Linked DNA regions of Homo sapiens: region 1 is linked to region 2. Evidence: promoter capture Hi-C in 16 types of primary human blood cells and fetal thymus (Javierre and others, 2016). All regions are on one chromosome and are shown on one strand. Each heading gives the region's core, a stretch centred on a gene start or on the middle of the fragment in contact. The rest is flanking DNA. Distances are from core to core; before and after follow the strand shown. Region 1 holds the start of SH3GL1 (SH3 domain containing GRB2 like 1, endophilin A2). Region 2 holds the start of SAFB2 (scaffold attachment factor B2).

Region 1 (6,521 bases), core at 1,123-3,622, 1.2 Mb before region 2:
AGGTACCTGCTGGGTGTTACTGGGGACTCGTTTCTCTTTGCTCCCACTGGGCATCTCCGAACTGTGGGCAGAGAACCCTGTTTGCCACCTTGGCCCAAGCATTTGCTAAGATCATTGCTCATTCCTCGGTGGACTCTATCTACACAAATTCCACACAACCTCACCCTGCAGTACACGGACCAATAGGATTCAACAATCTGAGGCTTCTTGTCTTTTTTTTTTTTTCAAGACGGAGTCTCGCTCTGTCACCCAGGCTGGAGTGCAGTGGTGCAATCTCGGCTCACTGCAACCTCTGCCTGCCGGATTCAAGAGATTCTCCTGTCTCACCCTCCTTAGTAGCTGGGGTTACAGGCAAAAATACAAAATTTTTGTATTGTTAGTAGAGATGGGGTTTTGCCATGTTGCCCAGGCTGCTCTCAAACTCCTGGCTTCAAGTGATCCGCCCGCCTCGGCCTCCCAAACTGCTGGGATTCCAGGCATGAGCCACCGCGCCCGGCCAAATTTGAGGCTTCTTGCATTCGAAATTGCAAAGTGAAAATTTTAAATGTGCCCAGTTTTCTGGAGAGTGGATCCACAGCTTTCACCAGATTCATGAGCAGTGGGCCCTGGAGTTTCCAAAAAAAACCCTTTATCTGTCCATATCAAATGCACTTAGGCTGGGATGCAGCATTCTACTTCTGGGAATTCATCCTATAAAACTAATCCCACTGGTGAGCAAAGATATTCACTGGCTATTTATTGTAGTAATGGTAACAGAAAATTCCGGTAAACAATAGAGATATCTATCAACTGACAACTGGTTAAATAAATTATGGTATATGTCATGGAATGAAATACAATGTACCCATTAAAAAGAGCCAAGTAGGCCAGGCAGGTGGCTTACGTCGATAATCCCAGCATGTTGGGAAGCCGAAGCAGGCGGATTACTTGAGGCCAGGAGTTCGAGACCACCCTGGGGCACATGGAGAAACCCTGTCTCTGCTAAAATTACAAAAAGTAGCCGGGCGTGGTGGCGCATGCCTGTAGTCCCAGCTACTGGGGAGGCTGAGGCAGGAGAATTGCTTGAACACAGGAGGCGGAGCTTGCAGTGAGCCGAGATTGCACCACTGCCCTCCAGCTGGGGCGACAGAGCATGACTCCCTCTCAAAAAAAAAAAAAAAAAAAAAAATCCAAGAAGTGTGGAGTATGGTCTAGAGCAGTAGTCCTGGGGGACAGGAAAGGAAGGGAGGAAGGAAAGAAGAGAAGGGAGGGAGGGAGAGAGGCAAGGAGGGAGGGAGGAAGGAAGGAAAGAAGGAAGGAAGGAACGAAGGGAGGGAAGGAGGACTGATTCTAAGGGGACACACGGTGATGTCTCAAGATATTTTTGGTTGTCACGACTTGGGGGTGCTCCTGGCCCGGAGTGGGTGGAGGCCAGGGGCGCTGCTCAGCACCCCGCAGTGCCCAGGACGGCCCCACCACGGAGAACAATCCAGCCCCAGATGTCAACAGTGCCGACGGAGGGGGAGAAATCCCGCTCCAGTGTGATCTCCAAGCAATGAAAAACACAGCACACAGGATTCTGTGGCATATGCTATCACAGGGTACGTGTTTTTAAAGGAAAGGCACACACGTATCTTAGGAAAGGGACATACGGAGTCGATGACAGTCGCTTGTCTCTGGGGAGAAGGGCTGGCTGCCCGAGGAGCAGAGAGGGGAAACTGACTTCTTCCTCTACCTTTTCAACTTTGTACCTTGCCCATCCAGAGGATTTTGAACGTAACTGCTCTAGACGCAACTTTTCCCTGGCTCTGGGTTATCTGGCAAGAGTCCTGTGTCGACAGCCTCGGGACTCCTCTCTTCCCCTTCTCTCCCCGCACCCCGCCTTTGCAGCGGAGAGAAGGAGGGGAGAGGTCCGCGTCCCTGGGCAGCCCAGGGTGCCTCTCCCCTCCTCCCAGGGGCTCTGTCCCCGCTTCTGGAGCCCGCATGGCGGGCAGGGCCTGGGCCACCTCGTCGCCCCCGTCCGTCCCTTGGTCTTCCCACCTGGCAGGGGACACGCGCCAACGTCCCCACCTCGGTCCCCCCGGCCCCCTCCCGGGCCAGGTCGGGCCTGGCTCCCTCATCCGGGCAGCCCGGGGCCCGGTACTCGGCTCCCGCCTGGGCCTGCGCTCACCTGGCTCGCCTTGTAGAACTGCTTCTTCAGCCCCGCCACCGACATGCTGCCGCCCGCCGCCGAGCCTCCCGCCCGGACCGCGCCAGCGACAGGCTCCCGGGCGCCGCCGACCCTCTGCGCGCCTCAGCAGTCCCCGTCGGCGCCGCCTCCGCCACCCGCTTGCCAGCTCCGCGCCCGCCCCGGCGCCGCCTCAGCCGCTCGCGCGCCCGCGCGGCCAGGATATTACATGGCAACCGCACGCTTCCGGTGCCGGCCCCCGCGCGCGCCCCCGGCCCCCGCGCGCGCCCCCGGCCCCGTCTGCGCACGCGCGCCCTCTGCCGGCTGAAGAGCGCACGTGCACATTGTCTACCGCGGGAGAGGCCGCCTCTGTCAGTGAGTTGAGCGGGGCGAGCCTAGAGGGGCCGTAGCAGTTGCAGCGCCCCCTGGAGTCGTGGAGGTGACCCTAACGTCTTGGAAAACGCGCTTAGTTTAAACCTGGCCAGGGAGGTTGGGAAGTAGAAGGGGCCCCTGCTTACGATTCTTCAGATTCCTGTTTACTCATCTTAGCTAAATCCAGTTCGTCTAAGTGTTCAGCCCCCTCCCATTTTTATTTATTTATTTATTTTTTTTTTGAGACGGAGTCTTGCTTTGTCTCCCAGGCTGGAGTGCAGTGGCGTGATCTCGGCTCACTGCAACCTCCGCCTCCCGGGTTCAAGCGATTCTCCTGCCTCAGCCTCCCAAGTAGCTGAGATTACAGGCGCGCACCACCATGCTAGGCTAATTTTTGTATTTTTAGTAGAGACAGTGTTTCGCCATGTTGGCCAGGCTGGTCTCGAACTCCTGACCTCAGGTGATCCAACCCCCAACCCCCCCACCAAATCCAGCCTCCCAAAGTACTGGTCTCACAGGTATGAGCCACCGTGCCCGGCCACCTCTCTTCCTCTCTCTCTCTGTCCTGTGTTCATCCATTCAGTTGCCCACGTGACACATCTAGACATCTAGGTCTGTCTTCATGCCTTGACCATACTTTCCACCAGTCCTCCCCTCCAATTCTTCCTTGTCATGGCAGCCAGAAAGATGCTTCTAGAATGCAATTCAGGGCCAGGGGCGGTGGCTCACGCCTGTAATCCCAGCACTTTGGGAGGCCTAGGTGGGCGGATCACGAGGTCAGGAGATTGAGACCATCCTGGCTAACACGGTGAAACCCTGTCTCTACTAAAAAATAGAAAAAATTAGCCGGACGTGGTGGCGGGCGCCTGTGGTCCCAGCTACTAGGGACTCCGTCTCAAGAAAAAAGAAAGAAAGAAAGGAAGGAAGGAAGGAAGGAAGGAAGGAAGGAAGGAAGAAAGAAAGAAAGAAAACCTGTTTCTACACTCACAGGCTGACACTGAAGTTCTCTGTTTTGTGTGAGGCTTTTAATCTGCTTGATCTACACAGTTCAATCAAATATTTATACATTCACTCAAACATTTATTGACCTGGTAAATATGATCAGTTACTAACAGGTCCTGGGGTTCCAGTGAGGAATGAGTCCTACCCTCGCCAGAACTAATGACAAAAGGCAGAAATTAATTCATTAGTCAAATAACAAACTAATAAATAGACACAGCTGTAATTGCTTTAAGGAAAAGAACAGTGTTGTAGGCACTTGATATTGTCAGGGTTGGGGAAGAAAAGGCTTCCTGGGGTGACGATCTAAGATCTGAAAAGTATAAATTAGCCAGGAAAAGAGCTGCGAAAAGATTGTTCTAGGCAGAGAAAACAGCATGTGCCAATTTCCTGAGGATTAAACCAGAAACGATCCATTTCGTCCATTTCGTTCACTCATTCTACATGTTATTTACTGAATGTCAAATACTTCCGAAGCGCTCCCCAGACTTCGTTTTATTGTTCTTGTAGAAAGCAATTTATAATTTTAATTGCTGTTGCTATATTTAGCCGATGTCCCATTAGGATAAACTCAAAACTCCAGGTTCCTCATCTAAATCCCACTTTCAAGTTGTCATCTGCGCCTTGCGTAAAATGTTCTGGTGACGTAAGAGCCTGGGCCTCCCTCCTCTTAGGGACTATCCCACGCGATCAGCCAGTCGCAGCGCAGAGCAATGAGCTTGACACCTCCTTCCTCCAATCGCAGGGCAGCTCCTCCCAGCCAATGACAGGCCTCCGAGGGGAAGCCCAGTCCCTCGCGGATATGTCAATGGGCGAGCCCTGGGAGGAATGGAAGTCACGGATCTCGCGAGGATGCCCCCGGCGCCCCTCAATTCCCGAGGCGGGCCGTCACGTGACCCGGGCTCGCCCAATTGGCGCGCGGACTGCGGGGGTCGCCGCGGTTCCCGCCAAATACGAGCGCGGCGGCCGCGGCGGCAGCAGCGGCGCGGGCGGGAGGGCGAAGAGCAGCGGCCGCCTGAGGGGAGCCCGCGCCTCCGCCGCCTGAGAGGAGGTCGAGCTGCCGCCGGGGCGATGCTGGAGGAGCTGGAGTGCGGGGCGCCCGGCGCCAGGGGAGCCGCCACAGGTCGGTTCGGGCCCGCGCCGAGGGGAAGGGGGGGCGCGGCGCGCGGCCTGGACGGGCCGAGGCGGCGATGGGAGGCGGACGGGCCTCCGGGCGCCAAGCCTGGTCCTGCGGGCCGGGCGTTCACCCCCTGGGGCCTTCTCATCCCCAGCGAGGGCCTGGCGTCCCCAAGGGCACCCTTGTTGACGTTATTGTTGTAGCCGCGACCATATTGTTTGTTTCCGGCGCTTTTGCGTCAGTTCGTCCCTCCAGGACTCTCTGGGGCGGTGGGTCGGAGGGGCCGAGAGGGGAAACTGAGGCCCAGGGAAGCGAAAGGGCTTGCCCTGCAGGTTACTGGATGCGTTTGTGTCCCTTGACCATGTTGGACCTTGCAGCGGGTGGGGAAACTGAGGCCCAAGGTCGCACGGGCTCGGGGACCAGTACCGATGCCGCTGAGGGTCGGGGTAAGCCCGGGTAAGAAGAGGCCCAGATGGTAGAGATGGCCAGGAGGGTGGGACTCCCGAGTTCTTGCTCCTTCCTGATATGCACCGTGACTTCCTCCTCCGTGTGCCTTGGAATGGGGTCTTTGGAGCCCACCACAGGCCTCCTGAAACGTGGGAGGGTGAACCAAGGAAGACCAGACTGTCCCTCTCCCTTGCTGGACTCTGCATTACATAACGCTTTGGCAGCACTTGGCATTACGCTTTGGCACATAGTAGGTGCTCAGTAAATAACGTGAACGAATGAAGGGCTAGAATGGACGCCAGTCCAGTTTCTCAGCCTCAGCAGTGTTGATATTTGTTGCCGTCCTGGGCACGGCACTGCAGGGTGTTAAGCATCATCCCTGGCCTCCGCCTTTTGCAGGCCAGTAGCAGCCCCTCTCACCATGCCTTAGTAACAGCCAGAAATACCATTGCCCTGTGTCCCCTATGGGGCAGATTCCGCCTTGGCTGAAAATCATGGCTGTAGTTCCTTCTAGCCTGTGGGATTTCCCGGAGACATAAAATTAATATAAAGTTGGTACTGTCGTGGAGCTGTGATGTTTTAAGTCAGGATGTTTAACTTTATTTATTTATTTATTTTGAGACTGAGTCTTGCTCTGTTGCCCAACCTCTGCCTCTCTGGTTCAAGCGATTCTTCTGCCTCAGCCTCCCAAGTAGCTGGGATTACAGGCCTGCACCACCATGCCTGGCTAATTTTTGTATTTTTTAGTAGAGACGGGGTTTCACCATGTTGGGCAGGCTGGTCTCGAACTTCTGACCTCAGGTAATCCACCTGCATTGGCCTCCCAAAATGCTGGGATTACAGGCATGAGCCACCATGCCTGGCCAGGATATTTAACTTTAAAAAAAAAAATCGCTACTCGCTAGGACCATGCTATCATGAAAGGAAAGTATATTTTAGTGCCAAATAAAATTAGAAAGGATGTAATCGCAGAATAAAGAGCAGTTAGTAACTTTATACACACATATGTGTTAATCGTGTGTATCTTTGGATCTCTGGATTGGGAGTGTCCCGTTTTATATACAAGATTTTTTAATGAGGGTGGGTCCTGTTTTTAATGAGGTTGTTTCTGTTCCACTTGCACCAAAGCTAGTGACTCAAAGCCACACAAATAGATTTTTGTGATTGTCTCGAAAATAAAGTTAAGTGACTAAAAATCATATCCTTCAGTTAGGGGGTAGAAATCCATGGCTTTTGGTAAGTGGACACTTGAGAATGATACTGTCTTTATTTCTTTGAAGTGGCTAGAAAGGAAACATGAATTTTCTCAGTACCTTTTCTTATTCACTAAGCTTGGGGCGGTGGGTGAGGGGTGGTTTCATGTATGGACGATGGAGTTTTTTAGGAAGCCCCAGTCTGCTTTTAAAAAGTACTCACTTTTATGTAATGCTTACAAAACAT
Region 2 (6,693 bases), core at 2,129-4,628:
GAAGAACTTTATCATCCAAGCTTTCCTGACAAAACACTAACTCCAAGTAGTTTTGAATCCACCTAAGCTTTAATCTAGACATTCAGGCAGGTCTTCAAAGCACTCAGCTAAAGTTTAGTTTTTCTAATGATGCAAAGATCATTAGAAATGATCCCTGCTAGGCCGGGCACAGTGGCTCATGCCTCTAATCCCAGCACTTTGGGAGGCCCAGGCGGGTGGATCACCTGAGGTGAGGAGTTCGAGACCAGCCTGGCCAACATGGATGGTGAAACCACGTTTCTACTAAAAATATAAAAAAGTAGCTGGGCGTGGCGACGGGCACCTGTAATCGCAGCTACTCAGGAGGCTGAGGCACAAGAATCACTTGAACCCGGGAGGCGGAGGTTGCAGTGAGCCAAGACCGCACCACTGCACTCCAGCCTGGGCAACAACAGCAAAACTCCATCGCAAAAAAAAAAAAAAAATCCCTGTTAAATTCCTGCTAAAAGCCAAGGATATTTTGAGTAGTAAGTCTTGAACTTTACAGTTTTAAAATGAGCACCTACATAAAAAACTTTTAAACTTTATTGTTAAGCAGTTTTCCCAACCACTAAAAAAAGAAAATTCACATCATGCATAAGTTAACACCTAAACAGAAGAGATAAACTATATTTCCTGCGTAGACCAGTCTCTCACATTCTGAATGTGCTCAGGCTGGGCCTTCTAGGTGAAATACGGACACTCACAAGAACAGCAAAAACGCATCCATGTGTCAAAATTAAACTTTAACTTAAAGCTCTTATGCAACCTAACTAAAAGATTTAATCTTTCAAACTACATGCACATGTTTTAAACAGTTAATGTGTTATGAAACACATTAAGAAGAAAAAGCTATTAAAAAAATGAAATTGTTAAAAATGCTACAATTTCTTTCTACTTTCTAAGCACTGATCCTCCACTGCCTGAATTTAGCACTTTTCCAAGAAAACAGGCCCCCTGCACAGGAAACCTAAATTATATTATCCTTATCACCATAAAACCTAACAATACCAACTGGGATAGTCAAAGCTTCAAAGTTTTATGGAATTCAATGCTTTCAAAAATAACTGGTATCAGCCATAAACAGGAATGAAGTATCAATACATGTTACAACACAGATGAACTTTAAGCATTATGCTACGTGAAAGCTGATGCAAATGGCCATATGTTGTACAATTCCATCTACATGAAATGTCCACAATAGGCAAATCTATGCGGACAGAACATGGATTAGTAGTTGCCAGGGGCTGGAGGGAGAAAAGTAAGGCGACTAACTTCTAATGAGGACCGGGTTTCCTTTTTGGGTGATGAAAATCCAGAAGGAGACGGTGGTGGTGGTGGCAGAGCCTTGTGTATACACTAGGAAGCACTGAATTGTACACCTTAACCTGATGAATTTAACGGTCTGTGAATTAAACCTTCACATTCAAAAACCGTAATAGTAAAAAATAGGCTGAGTGCAAATACCCCAACAATCTACTTTGGACCCTAGCAAAGCTGAGTTCTATTCGGTCTCAGGTTGGTGTCCTTTTCTTTGGGTTAAGACCTATTTTTTGAACCAGGAAGGAAGCCAAGTAGGTACATTTGGTTCCTCAGACCCGTAGAAGTAGCTTTAAGAGCTTGTCTTTCTCTAGTTGACTTTTAATCCCAATGGCAGAAGCTGAAACGTTTTTCGTATATTTTAATTGCACTTGGCACCTGTACATCTCTTTCCTCCTCCCTGTGCCCTTGACAGAGCTACCTGTTAGGTGGTGACGAGCAAAGCTAACTCTTAGTGGAGGGACACCGAGTACCAGAGAAATTCTCCCAGCCTAGAAGGCGGGAAGAGCACACTACACACCATTTCTCTAAATTCTCTGAACACTCAAGCCCCAAGCAGCATATGTACAATACCTTTAACACATCTCTTGGCTGACTTCTTGCTGGTGGCTTCTAACTCGATGCCAATTTCATCAGGATCTTGCCCCTCTTCTTTAACCGCCTATTAGGGAGAGATGAGTTTTACAACATCATTAAGAGCTGCAGGGCACACACTGTTCCTTACAAGTAACAACCTCCCATGAAACAAAGGCAAACCCGTCCTTGCAAAGAGCAACTCCGGGTCAGCTATCTGGGCCGCAAGCCCAAAAGGCGGAGGAGGAACCCCGCACAACTTGGGTCTCTCTGGGTCCAAATGACAAAGGAGAGGGAGGCTGTGAGCAGGAGCTCCAGAATTGGGGTCAAGGACCAGTTCCAAAATGGCAACTCAACTCGACAATGCCAAACCTTCGACTTTAAAGTTATATGATGGGACAAATTAGAACAGAGAGGCTGCACTTGGCCCGGCCTCGGTGAAGGGCTGGCCACCGCTGGTGAGGAGGAACAGCAGCCAGCCTGGGGAGATTCAACAGGTCCCTCAGTGCCTGCCACCTGCCGGGTCCAGGACTGGGTACCCACAAGCTCCCTCCCTATGCTCAAGTTGTTTGTTCCAGTTGCGGAAACAGACAATTCCCAACCCCTTAATATTTTGCATTTAGCCCCTGCTTTCAGCGAGGTGCGACACAAACGCAGGATGAGCTGGCAAGGAGGTGGGGCAGCGCATTAGGAAGGGCGCTCAGGAAGGTGATGTCTCAGGCAGACCCAAAATGACAACAAGGGGCCGGCCACGAGAAGATCTGGGGGACCCGGGTGGACAGCTTCGTAAAGGCCAAAGCCCTGGGGCAAGAACAAGCACCGCCCCCTTTCCTGTAAATGCTCTGGAGTCCGCCAGACACCCATTCTCCGGAGGAGGAAACTGAGGCACAGAGAGAAAGGCACCTGCCCAAGGTCACAGAGCCAAGGCTCGATCGGGAGCCCCAGGAGGGGTCCCGGGGCCACCCTGGTAGCGGAGAAGACCGCACGCTGAGCGCGCTTGAGGAGAAAAGGTGGAAAGAGGATAGGAAGGGAGGCACAGAGAGGAGCGGTGACGGGCCAAGGTCACACAGCCGGCCCCCTGGGTGCCCGACACCTCGAACCGGGGTCGGCCAAGACGCGGGGCGAACCCAGGGCGCCCCGGGTCCGGGAGCCGCGGTGACAGGTGCAGGCGGGGGCGTGCCCGGGCCTCCTGCGCCACCCCCGAGCCCCGCGCCGCCTCACCTTCTTGAGCCGCTCCATCAGGACGCTCTTGTTGCCGCCCGTGTCCAGGTTCCGCTTCTTCAGCTCCGCCCGCAGATCGATCACCCGCAGCTCGCTGAGCCGCCTCGTCCCAGTCTCCGCAACGCCCGGGCCGAGAGAAGCCGTGCCAGGGCCCGAGTCGCCCGACCCGGGCAGAGTCTCCGCCATCGTCGCGTTCCCGTCTTCGCCACCGACTCAGTCGCACACCGCCGGCAGCTATAGCGGCTCTGAACACAAAATGGCGCCGCCTAAGAGGAAAACGCACTCGTTTCCTCCCGCCCCGCTTTGCGGCCGCGCACGCGCACGCGCACCGCCCCCACTAGCGTACTTAGCAGCAAGGACGCTCGCGCGTCCACCAACCGCGGGTTCCCCGGCACAACGCGCAAGCGCTGAATCTGCAGCTCGCATGCGTCCCGGCAGTTCCCGGCGGGAGGCTGACGAGACGCAACGCGTCTGCGCACATCCCCGCGTTGTTCTCACTGCGCATGTGCAGTTGCAACCGGGATACTAGAACCTACGCTTGGTGCGCCTGCGCAGAAGCGAGGCGCGCTGGGGCGACTGGAGCGGTTCCCTCGCAGGCGGCGCCATTTTGTGCTAGGAGCCTGATAAAACCGGCCCGGTTCTGTGGAAAGTGGGCGGCGGAGCCAGGGTCCCTGGAATGGCGGAGACTCTGTCAGGCCTAGGTGATTCTGGAGCGGCGGGCGCGGCGGCTCTGAGCTCCGCCTCGTCAGAGACCGGGACGCGGCGCCTCAGCGACCTGCGAGTGATCGATCTGCGGGCGGAGCTGAGGAAACGGAATGTGGACTCGAGCGGCAACAAGAGCGTTTTGATGGAGCGGCTGAAGAAGGTGGATTTGGGGCCCCGAGGGCGGGCACAGGGTGGGTCTGGGGTCCTCTTGGCCGCGACGGTGGCTCGCGGGCCCTGGCGTCCGCCCCCGGCCGCGTTCGCGGCCTCGCCGGACCTGGCGCTCTCGCGTCCCCCGGCTCCTCCGAGGCCCCGGAGAGAGTTCCTTGGCCGGCTGGGCCTGGGTTCAAATCCTAACGCCGCAATGGGGCCAGGAGAACCACAAAAACGGCACGCGTGCAGGAGAAACGGTGACGGGTGACATCGTCCACTGAGAGGAGGGTTCTCCCCTCGTCTCGTCCCCTCCTCCGTACCTGGAGGGGAGACCCTGAAACCCTCACTTCCCAGGCGAGGGGAAGGGACTCGGCCAAGGTCACACGGCCGAGGACGGGCAGCGTCGGGATTTGAACCCAGGCCCTGGGATTCCTGATTCGGCTGCTTGGTTTCCCCAGGGAAGATGCTTTGTGACCCACAGGGGACCGACCAGCCTGAATCGGGGCTGATTTACAAAGGAAACACCCGTAGGACATACTCAAAGGGAAAAATAGAAAAAAACCCACCACAATCCAGTTTTCACGGTTTGCCGGTACTCGCTCGGTGAAGTAACGTGGCAGGAAGGAAAAGTGGTGTTGACGGTAGTGATCAGAAATGTGAAATGAGGGGAGACCCCGGGTGGACTTTAAAACCAGCCTCAGAACTGCCCGGGAGGCGGGCAGAGCCTGGGCTCCCCCAGCTCCGTCAGTCTCTCTGGACTTGGGGACCCTGCCAGCTCTCGGTGGCCTGATCTTGGGCATAGGAGACCTTGAACCCCTTCTGAGTCCTCTTTTCTATTCTTTTTTTTTTTTTTTCTCCTGTAAGAAGCAAAAAAGCAATAGGACTTTGATTTGGGGATTAAATAAGTTTGCGTGGAGCAGGCTTGGCGTGCTGCCTGGCGCATGTAAACACTCGGTGTGTGGTTGCCATCACGATTCGCTTTTCCTCTCTGTGCCACCACGAGTCCTCATTTGCAGATCGGGGGCTCTAACGCCTCCCTTGGGGGATTCAAAGGGATCCCTAGGAAAAGCAGAGAGGCAAGTAAAGGTTAGCCACCTGCGGTTTCCTTATTCCTGTAGCTTTTTTTCTCTGCCTTTTTTCCACCTGGCTACTCTGGGACCTCTCCCCTGTAGTTGCTCCGCCTGGCCGCCCACCCCCCAGCCCCTGCAGGCAGTGGGGCTGTTGACACATCCCACCATCCTGACTCCGGAACTACGGAGATCACAGGGCTTTATTATTAATTGGTGATGAGAAGAAGTAGGGATTTTTTTTTTTTTTTTTTTCCTGATGAGAAACCCTGGGCTCAAGGGTGGATAGTTGTCTCGGCCAGAGTCACATGGGCCTTTTAAAAGCTCAAGCTTGTGTTTCTTTTCACTATGGATTCTCTTTACTCAGATAAGGCAGGAAGCCCACTGATCTACATATTTACCCAGAGAAAATGCAGAGAGTGGAGATTGGCGGCTGGTCAGGTGTGGTGCCCCGCCACCAGGGCCTCCCATCAGCTAAGCCAAATTAAGAGGCTTTATCCTTTTTTTCTCCCTGGACGGTCCATAGGCCTGAAAAGCTGCTGTGATCTTCCTGTCAAGCTGGTGACTGAGACTTCCCATCACTCGCTGTCATCTCTGAGAGCACAGATTTGTTCCTTCTTCCTTCTCCTTTTCATTTTCTTCAAGATGTGGTCCCAAAACACGAATACCGCCAGCCCATATCCCTGTCTGCCACTCACCCAAGCCAGTCTGGAGTTCCTGATCTCATTCTCTTCCCGTTTCTGTCATCCTGTTGGTGTCCCTTTCTTGGTTTATTTTTCCAGGAAGGGCAAAAGAACAAAAAGGGGAAACAGGACACCTGCCTAGGGCATTGCTTCTCTTCTCCTGGTGGTGTTTCAGAATTGCCTGTCCCCGGGAAAAGGGTGAGGGACTTGGTGATTGTACTTTTCCTTGATCCCAGGAAAGAACTTCAGTCCCTTTTCTGGCTTCTGAGAGGAGAGATTTTTGTTGCTGCTGGTAAAGATGAGATGTGGAACCCCCAGGCCCTATCTCAATTCAGACTTACCCACCTGGGAAACTTGGAGGCTTCCAAACCTCTGCAGATAAAACATAGTACATGAAATGATGTAAACAAAACTTGTGCTCATGGGACTGGAGAGTAAAGACTGGAAAAGTTATCAGTAAAACTTGACCTGAAGCTAAGTTTCTAGGGACGTCATCGTGATTGACGTGTTCGGTACTGATGGCTTAGTTGATGCCAGGCACTGTGCTGAGGATGGGCATAGTTGAAGTGAGTGACAGAGTCCTGGGGTGGGAGGCTGGGCGTGCCAAGAAATTCTTATAATTCAATATCCGATGAGGCACAATCACCTAGTGGTTGAGAATGAGGTACTGGAGTCGGTTGTGAATGTACATGATGGGGATCGGATGAGGTCATGCATGTCGTGACGGGTCTCGTGCGTAACACATAGTAGGATCCCAGTCAGCGAGCATTAGTATTCTGTCCACACAGTACTGAGTACAGGCACGGCGTGGAGGGAGTCCCTGGAGGGTTAAAGAGTATTTTGTGAGTAAAGTCAGGGGAAATGGAGAGTGTGCCTTTCCCTTTTTGAGTTCTTCTGGGCTTAGGAAGGAGATGAACCAGATAAGCCTACTGTTTGTTGAGTGCTTCCTTTTCATG

Evidence for each region. Contacts are between HindIII fragments. The CHiCAGO score rates a contact against its expected background, and 5 or more counts as called.
Region 1: a contact is called between the fragment with the promoter of SH3GL1 here and the fragment with the promoter of SAFB2 in region 2, in 2 of 17 cell types (neutrophils and fetal thymus). The highest score is 6.1, in neutrophils.

Annotation. Positions count from the first base shown.
Region 1 is chr19:4,398,175-4,404,695 of GRCh38, forward strand. SH3GL1 (SH3 domain containing GRB2 like 1, endophilin A2) reads right to left here and starts at 2,373. Exons shown (of 10, transcript NM_003025.4): 1 at 2,150-2,373. The coding sequence starts at 2,194. CHAF1A (chromatin assembly factor 1 subunit A) reads left to right here and starts at 4,466. Exons shown (of 15, transcript NM_005483.3): 1 at 4,466-4,640. The coding sequence starts at 4,589. RefSeq lists enhancers at 1,734-2,563, 4,226-4,923, 4,924-5,619 and silencers at 1,852-1,901, 1,962-2,471, 4,434-4,713. The HindIII fragment of the contact is 26,532 bases long and covers 1-6,410 here.
Region 2 is chr19:5,619,398-5,626,090 of GRCh38, forward strand. SAFB2 (scaffold attachment factor B2) reads right to left here and starts at 3,379. Exons shown (of 21, transcript NM_014649.3): 1 at 3,133-3,379; 2 at 1,912-1,999. The coding sequence starts at 3,318. It overlaps SAFB (scaffold attachment factor B), which reads left to right and starts at 3,686. Exons shown (of 21, transcript NM_001201338.2): 1 at 3,686-3,997. The coding sequence starts at 3,809. RefSeq lists silencers at 1,779-1,999, 3,004-3,123, 4,094-4,143 and enhancers at 1,918-2,650, 3,124-3,463, 3,384-4,116, 4,117-4,848. The HindIII fragment of the contact is 4,337 bases long and covers 1,046-5,382 here.